Linked DNA regions of Homo sapiens: all the other regions are linked to region 1. Evidence: promoter capture Hi-C in 16 types of primary human blood cells and fetal thymus (Javierre and others, 2016). All regions are on one chromosome and are shown on one strand. Each heading gives the region's core, a stretch centred on a gene start or on the middle of the fragment in contact. The rest is flanking DNA. Distances are from core to core; before and after follow the strand shown.

Region 1 (2,700 bases), core at 88-2,587:
AGATCCTGAAATCTGAGTTTCCATCAAATAAATGGCAGGACCTGTCTTCCACACTCACCTTCAGCTGCAGTGTGGGCTGGTCCCCGACTTTAGCACACATCAGGCAGAGATTGAGTCCATTCAGGCCCAGGTAGATGGGGTTCCCTCTGTCTTTCTCAAGGGTCTCCACATGTCGGCATGAGATTAAGGCAATAGTGACTGGGAACACGATGTGAAAAGTGGTGTTCAGCTGCCATTTCCAGGGTGGTACCTCTGAGCCAGAGTTTTAAGGGAATCTGCTAACTGACACTCACAGTGCACTCATAGAATGGTCACCTCACCACCCACCACCTAACCGGGACACCCATCCTATGTTTGGGGAACACTTTCCATTAGAAAAGTCAGTCTTTCATGGATTCAAAAACTGGTCCTCCCATAGATTACCCTCTTTTGTCCTACTCTTACTCCTTGAAGTTTCTCAGAATACGTCTTCCACTGTTTTTCATAGGCTGACCCTTCAGTCTCCCTTAAGCCTTCTCTCTCTTCTCTGACTTCATGACCATAGTCCCAGAACAACCTTATGCTCACCCTCTATTCATTATTGTCTGTGAGATGCTCCTCTCTGTAGATATGCCCGGTTAACAAGCCCACTGTGGAATAACATCTGAGCACCAAACACACAACAGCACTGGCCAAAGGAGCTGCCTTTCACAGACCGTGGCTACTCACCTGGAGACATACGGTCCTTCCTCGGGACTGCTATGAGCGTCTGGTCCTGAAGAACCCACACCCGATGATTGATATCCTGAATGCTCCCCTGCTGAGGTGTGTCAATTTTCAATGCTGTTGAGAAAGTCAAAATGTAAATTAGTAAGAATGAGAGCACAGAATATCACCCCCTTGTCAATTTTTCGCCCTTCCACGAGGATCTTTACCTTTTTCCATTGTGGTGGTGTTGTTTCAGAACTGCCAAGGATAGGAGTCCTTTTATGTGCAGACCGACCCCAAGAGAGGACCTGAGTCAGTCCCAAGCCACAGTTTAACCCTGGGTCAGATGAAAGACTGGCGGCCAGCCCAGCAGTGACCCCAGTCAGAATCTATACTCCCAGAACTCACCCAGCACCCTTACTTTGTTGGATGCAGTCTACCTCCAGCAGAAGCAGCTGCACCTATGAATCCTGCCCAGGCCTAGACCCAGGAACTCTAATATGACAAAGAGTGCCAAGGCCAAAGACCTGGAAGCAAAAAAAATCAGAGGTCACCAGACTTTCCAGCATAGGCCACACTGATAATCTGTTACGAAGGACCCTGTATCCCTACCATTATGAACAATGGCTTCTACTGCACTTGGGTTTTCTGACAGGCTGTAACAGGGCCCAGGCCTTTTATCCACATGGGCAAGGAAGGAAGTTCTGCCTCACTAAGTCTGGCACTGCCCAACACTCAGGATATTTTCTAGTTCCTGATGCCAGAGGATTTAGTGACTCTTTATGTGAACAGCATGGTTAAGACTTCTCCAAGCAACCTGAAACATGAGGGCATGCTAAACTTTTAAGAGCAGGAAATATAGTCACAGATACTGAGTTGAGAAACATTACGGGACTTCTTCCGGGTCAATGACTCATCTCTGATGCCACAAAATGAAACGATGGAATTATTCCTAAGAGTGGGAGCCCTCAGTAAGTGCAAGGTAGACTGAGGAGGGATAGGTCTCTTAAGACCTCTGTAGCTTCTAATCACTCCTGGTCCACAGGAACTATATTCTTGGTCAATTTCAGACCAGAAGCCCACTCACTCCAGTGACCCTCCTCCAGCTTCTCAGAGCCACTGTGCATGCTGCTTCTCCATGGAAGAAGGGAGTATTACTGTAGCAAAGCCAGCTCCTGAGCACTCTAGCCACCTCAATGGACTCTAGATCACTATCTCTAGTATAGGTAGCGTGATAGTAAATTTTAAGTGTCAATTTGACTGGTTTAAGGAATACTTAAAGAACTGGTAATACATTAGTTTGGGGTAAGTCTATGAGGGTGTTTCCAAAGAAGATTGGTGTGTAAGTCAGTGTACTAGTGGGGAACATCTACCCTCAACGTAGGTGGGATCCATCCAACTGGCCGGGGGCATGGATGGCATGGAAAAGACAGAGAAAAGGTGATTTTCTGTCTCTCCTGGAGCTGGGGCATTCTCTCCTGCCTTTGGACATTATAACTCCAGACTTTGGACTCCAGGACTTAATATCAGCATCTCCCTGGGTTCTCAGGCTTTCTATCCCAAAGTGAGAATTACACCAGTGGCTTCCTAGTTCTGAGGCTTTAGGACTTGAACTGAGCATGTTACCTGCATCCCAGGGTCTCCAGCTTGCAGGTGGTCTGTCATGGGATTTCTCAGCCTCCAAAATTGCATGAGTTCATTCCCCTAATAAATCCCCTTTCATACAAGAGGTCATCAAAAAGTTCATGGAAAATGCATATTATGAAAAAAACTATGCATGGATTTTGAATTATTTTGCACCAAAATAAACTCCTACTAACTTGTTATAAGGTGTTTGAACAGGATCTAGTTTGAGGCACTAAGAAAGGTAAGACATCAGTTTGAAAAGAGCCCCTATAAGATCAACATGAATTCTTCTAAAATTGAAGCAAGAACAAAAATCAAATTTATGGTGAAACTTGGGTGGAAGAATGGTGAAATCATTGATGGCTTATAAAAAGTTTGTGGGGACAA
Region 2 (2,714 bases), core at 46-2,545, 130 kb before region 1:
AAATTTCAGAGTGTCCAAGGCCTATTTATGCTTTAGGACAGACTAGAATCCTTACCATTGCCTACTAGGTTAGCAAGATCTAGCCCCAGCCTAGCTCCCTGTGCTCCAACCACAGGCCTGAGTTGAAAGAAAACTAAACTCCTGTGACTTATAATAAATACTGCCAAGGAGGGAAGGCGAAGATGTCAGTGTGACTCCATTGTGGCCTAAGGAAGATGTGTCTTGACTCTACACACAGACATACTGATCTCTTGGCAGGAAGCCCCTTGGAGTGGAGGTGGAGCGCTCAGGTGGGGCAGCTTGAGGTCCCTGGTCACTAAGATCTTTCCTCTGCTCTGACTCCAAGCAAATCAAGTTTCCTGAGTCATCTGACTGTGTCAACTGTCCCTGGGAAAGAATGCAGGCATAGCTGGCCCCTGAACAGATCCATTCCCCACTGTAGTGAGTGCCTGGGTATTTTATCTATCTCTTTTACGAGTTCTGTCCACTACCCACCAACACACAAAAGTACGCATTTCCCTTGTAGGCACGCCGTTGGGATTCCTGTGCTGAGTTCCAACATGTGGGTGTGTTCCCCCGGCCGAGGAGGGAAGTGTTAATTCCACACACCAGTCAATCATACAGGTAAAAGGTCTGCAACAGATAACAGGATGACAGGAAGTGGACTTTAAAGCAGGCACAGAAGACTTAGAATTTCTCGGGTGTCACCCCTTGGAGACTAGACATTGGCAATAGGCAACATTTGGATACTTGTCAGGAGTCAGGCCCCACCTCAGCTTGATTGATAGGTGAATGAAAATAAATTTTTCCTTAGAGTGAAACACCTAGAGAGTCTTGAAAAACCAGACCTTCACTAATTTGAGAGCATGAACCAAACTGATTATTTGCCTTGTCAAGATTCTTTCCAGGCCGGGTGTGGTGGCTCACACGGTAATGCTAGAACTTTGGGAGGCTGAGGCGGGCGGATTGCTTGAGTCTGGGAGTTGGACACCAGCCTGGGCAAAATGGTGAAACCCCGTTTCTATTTAAAAAAAAAAAAACAAAAACACTTTCCAGAGCAGTCAGGTGTGTACAAAATGCTGACCCCTGGTGGATATTTCCTGAACTACTCTTTTAGCTCCACATGAAGGAGACCCAGAGGCAAGACGTCAAAGCTAATCTTCCCTGTTTTTAAGCTTTCTCAGGTTTAAAGCTAAGAACCCAATAGATGAGTTTCATTGTCTCCAGAAACTTTTATGGAGAGAACTGGGCTGAATATCAAGCATGTTGAGATTTGCTGTTGTGGCTAGGGATTTCATAGTTATGTGAAGAGAAAACAAAAACTTATTTGGTTTCCCCAAGATTTGCAAGAATTTTACCCCAATTTGACACCCCCTGTTGAAGGCCAATTTATGTTCCCCCCAGAATGAAGCTTGAAATGTGTTTTAGCCAGCCTGTGATTGAGAAAATAGAAAATCTTCTACCTTCAACCCAAATTAACATGTAGTCAAAATGTACTGCTGATGCGGTAAGTGGCCTTTCTTTGAAGTTAAAGACCATCTCCCTCCATTGTATTGACAGACACTACCAGGGCCAGGTGGGAGAGCTGGGAGGACTTGACCTCAGGGTCCCTGACTTAGGAGCTATGTGGTCCACAGGGCCTCAGCCCTGGCATCATGATGTCCTTGTCCCACACCCAGATCAAGTGAATCAGAACCTCTGGATGGAGGAGGTAGGCCACTTTTGGTAAAAAGCTCCTGCAGGTCAGCCTGATGAAGACACATATCTAGTTCAATTCCCTCCTTTTATGAAAACTGAGGCCTAGGGAGGAGAGGTTGCTTGGCCAAGGGCCCCCCAGGGAGTCTGTAGGAAAACTCTGACTCACCAATGAAAGACCTGAATTCAGCCTTGAATTTTCAAACAGTTGTCCTTGATTCTGTAGTGTTGTAGTAGATCAGGCCCAGAAGTGACGGAAGAAGCCACAATCCTCTTGAGGCTTGCTTGTCTTCCCTCTCTGTGCTTTTCTCTCCCATCTCAGCCCCTCCACCTCCCAGTCACCTGTGCACCGCCTCCCAGTTGAACAAAAGCCTCACTTAAGCATGAACCCCAGGCCTGGCTTTCCTAATCCATGGCCCCTGCCTTGTGCTATATAAAGTGCTGGCCCCTTGATTATTAATTTCCTCACCGCAGGCTGAGACCAGACCTGGAATACCCCACCAAGCCAAACTCAAATGTTTGCACATCCACTTGCTTTAAACATAGCCCCAATAAGCCTATGGTAATCCATTTAGAACCTGCCTGCTCTGTATACTCCATGAAACTGTATCCAATATCTGCTGGCCAAGGATAAGCCCCAAGCCATAAAGGCCTCAAGCCACTGCAGCCCATAGGAGCTCTCTGACCCAGAGATTCCCTGCTGTGCTGCTGGGTGACTTCACCTGGCCATGTAAGCCCCCTTTCCAATTCTCTTCTTTCCTAGGAGTCCTCTTGCCCTCCTTCCCCTCTGAGTAGGACCCCATCTCCACACTATAGCCTCCTTGACCAATTCCTGCTATAAAGGACCTTCCCCAGTGTAAACCTGTTAAAGCATCAACCCGAAAGCCTATGTGTGCTACCGCCACCTCGTGGTCATATCTTTTTTCTTAACCTCCAAATATCTGAAAAATCCTTCACTCTGGGCCTTTTCCCTCTTCTAAGCTTCCTTCAAAATATTCCTGATCCAAGTCCCCAGTCTT
Region 3 (2,757 bases), core at 57-2,556, 230 kb after region 1:
TAAGCCTTCCTGCCGCAACAGTTTTTTATGCTAATCAGGGAGGTCATTTTGGTAAAATACTTCTTGAAGCCGAGCCTCAAGATGAAGGCAAAGCACGAAATGTTATTTTTTAATTATTATTTATATATGTATTTATAAATATATTTAAGATAATTATAATATACTATATTTATGGGAACCCCTTCATCCTCTGAGTGTGACCAGGCATCCTCCACAATAGCAGACAGTGTTTTCTGGGATAAGTAAGTTTGATTTCATTAATACAGGGCATTTTGGTCCAAGTTGTGCTTATCCCATAGCCAGGAAACTCTGCATTCTAGTACTTGGGAGACCTGTAATCATATAATAAATGTACATTAATTACCTTGAGCCAGTAATTGGTCCGATCTTTGACTCTTTTGCCATTAAACTTACCTGGGCATTCTTGTTTCAATTCCACCTGCAATCAAGTCCTACAAGCTAAAATTAGATGAACTCAACTTTGACAACCATGAGACCACTGTTATCAAAACTTTCTTTTCTGGAATGTAATCAATGTTTCTTCTAGGTTCTAAAAATTGTGATCAGACCATAATGTTACATTATTATCAACAATAGTGATTGATAGAGTGTTATCAGTCATAACTAAATAAAGCTTGCAACAAAATTCTCTGACACATAGTTATTCATTGCCTTAATCATTATTTTACTGCATGGTAATTAGGGACAAATGGTAAATGTTTACATAAATAATTGTATTTAGTGTTACTTTATAAAATCAAACCAAGATTTTATATTTTTTTCTCCTCTTTGTTAGCTGCCAGTATGCATAAATGGCATTAAGAATGATAATATTTCCGGGTTCACTTAAAGCTCACATTACACATACACAAAACATGTGTTCCCATCTTTATACAAACTCACACATACAGAGCTACATTAAAAACAACTAATAGGCCAGGCACGGTGGCTCAGACCTGTAATCCCAGCACTTTGGGAGGCCAAGGTGGGAAGATCACTTGAGGTCAGGAGTTCAAGACCAGCCTAGGCAACATAGTGAGATCTCATCTCTACAAAAAAAAATGAAAAATTAAAAAATGAGCTGGACATGGTAGTACACACCTGTAGTCCCAGCTACTCGGGAGGCTTGAGGTGGGAGGATCACTTGAGCCTGGGAGATGGAGGCTGCAGTGAGCCATAATCACACCATTGCACCCCAACCTGGGCAACAGAGTGAGACCCAGTCTCAAAAGATAAATTTTTAAAAATGTTAAAAAATATATAAAAGAGAATTTTAAAAGAACAACTAATAGATCAAAGCATGGATGCAAGATATATTTAGTTGGAAAATCAAGGTTAAAATCAAGGGATCTTGGAATTAGGTGTGGTAGATTTGGGTAAGGAGTAGTCTAAGATGACCCTGTTTCTTGGTACTGGAGACTGGATGAGTGGCAGCGTCTTAACCATATTTTTGGTAGAAATATGGAGGTCTTCTCCATTCCAGGATGAATGATGAGTAAAATTTTAGGCATGTAATTTGAGCTACTAGAAGGACACTCAATTGCAGATGTACAATGGGGAGATGATAACCTATCTGGAACTCAGAAAAATAACTGTATATAGATATGAAAGACATCAGTAGGTATGTAGTAGATAAAATCCTAAAAGTGATGTCAAAGGGAGAAGAGAAGTATATGGTGAACACTGTTGTTTGTCCATGCAATTGCCATCTCTTCTTCTTCCTTACTGACAGAACCCTGATTTCACTGAGAAGTCAACATGCCCTTCCCCAATTGATGAATCCAATTGGTTTAAGATTATGTTCATTCTATTCTTACATGACTAAGTCACGTTGACTTAATCCTATCAAATGAGATGTCGATCTGGAAACAACTTCTGGAAAAGATTTTCTACCTTGATAAAATAAAGAGCCATATAGATGGTCCTTTATCTTCCTTCTTCCTTGAATGAGATATGTTCTATGAGGAAGTGAAGCTTAGAACTGTGGTCAGCAACTTGCAACGACTGGGAAGTCAGAGCCACACAATGAAGAATGCAGAGTGGAAGGAGAAAAAGAGCCAGCATCTCTGACAACATTGTTACACCGAGAACCTACCTCCAGATTTTAAGAAAACAAGAAATGCTACTGTTATTAAGCCATTTCACTGGGTTTGCTATGACTTGCAGTCAAATCTAGCTTAACTGATACAGAGCACCACAGAGAACTGGTCTCTCATTTGTCTCATCCTGTTCTTTCTAGCAGCCACGACTTTCCTAGGGTTTCCTTAGCCCAAGTCTGGCTAGAGCAAGACTAAGTAAGACTTGATTCCTTAATGTCCTTTTGTTTTAAGAAATATTAAAGAATTATTTTTATATTAATATATTTTAAGAAATAAGGAAATACAAAACACTGAGCAAGCAACACAAATTCAAGAAATCTTAAAAAGTATAATAGCTGCTCAGTCTCTGATTAACAGTGAAATATGGAATCATTGTAGAAATGGCCTTGGAGCGTTATTCTCCCAGGCCAGCTATCCTTATGGTCTGCCCCACCTCCCTCATTGCCTAAACAGTAAGAGAGTCACCATGGTGAGACTCAACAGTCTTAGCACAGAACTTGTTACAGTCTATTTCTTTTCTTACAGTCCTATATATCAAGTTCCAAATCAATGAGAGTAAAGCCAAATCCCTGCCTTTAAACCCAAGGGACAGAAGCAAAAAGCCAAAAGATATTTCCCTAACCTTCCTCCCACTGAGTAGACTCCTCTGACATTTAAA

What was found. The method cuts DNA at HindIII sites, captures the fragments that hold promoters and counts their contacts. A CHiCAGO score of 5 or more calls a contact.
Region 2: a fragment that was not itself captured here is called in contact with the fragment with the promoter of IL36A in region 1 in 2 of 17 cell types (non-activated CD4 T cells and naive CD4 T cells); the score reaches 6.3 in non-activated CD4 T cells.
Region 3: a contact is called between a fragment that was not itself captured here and the fragment with the promoter of IL36A in region 1, in 1 of 17 cell types (M1 macrophages). The highest score is 5.5, in M1 macrophages.

The regions. Positions count from the first base shown.
Region 1 is chr2:113,004,096-113,006,795 of GRCh38, reverse strand. IL36A (interleukin 36 alpha) reads right to left here and starts at 1,337. Exons shown (of 4, transcript NM_014440.3): 1 at 915-1,337; 2 at 709-822; 3 at 59-198. The coding sequence starts at 924. The HindIII fragment of the contact is 6,987 bases long and covers 1-2,700 here.
Region 2 is chr2:113,136,950-113,139,663 of GRCh38, reverse strand. No RefSeq gene overlaps it. Among named protein-coding and RNA genes, the nearest start is that of IL1RN, 11 kb to the right of the region's middle. The HindIII fragment of the contact is 236 bases long and covers 1,178-1,413 here.
Region 3 is chr2:112,771,814-112,774,570 of GRCh38, reverse strand. IL1A (interleukin 1 alpha) reads left to right here. Exons shown (of 7, transcript NM_000575.5): 7 at 1-646. Among named protein-coding and RNA genes, the nearest start is that of CKAP2L, 8.6 kb to the right of the region's middle. The HindIII fragment of the contact is 1,340 bases long and covers 637-1,976 here.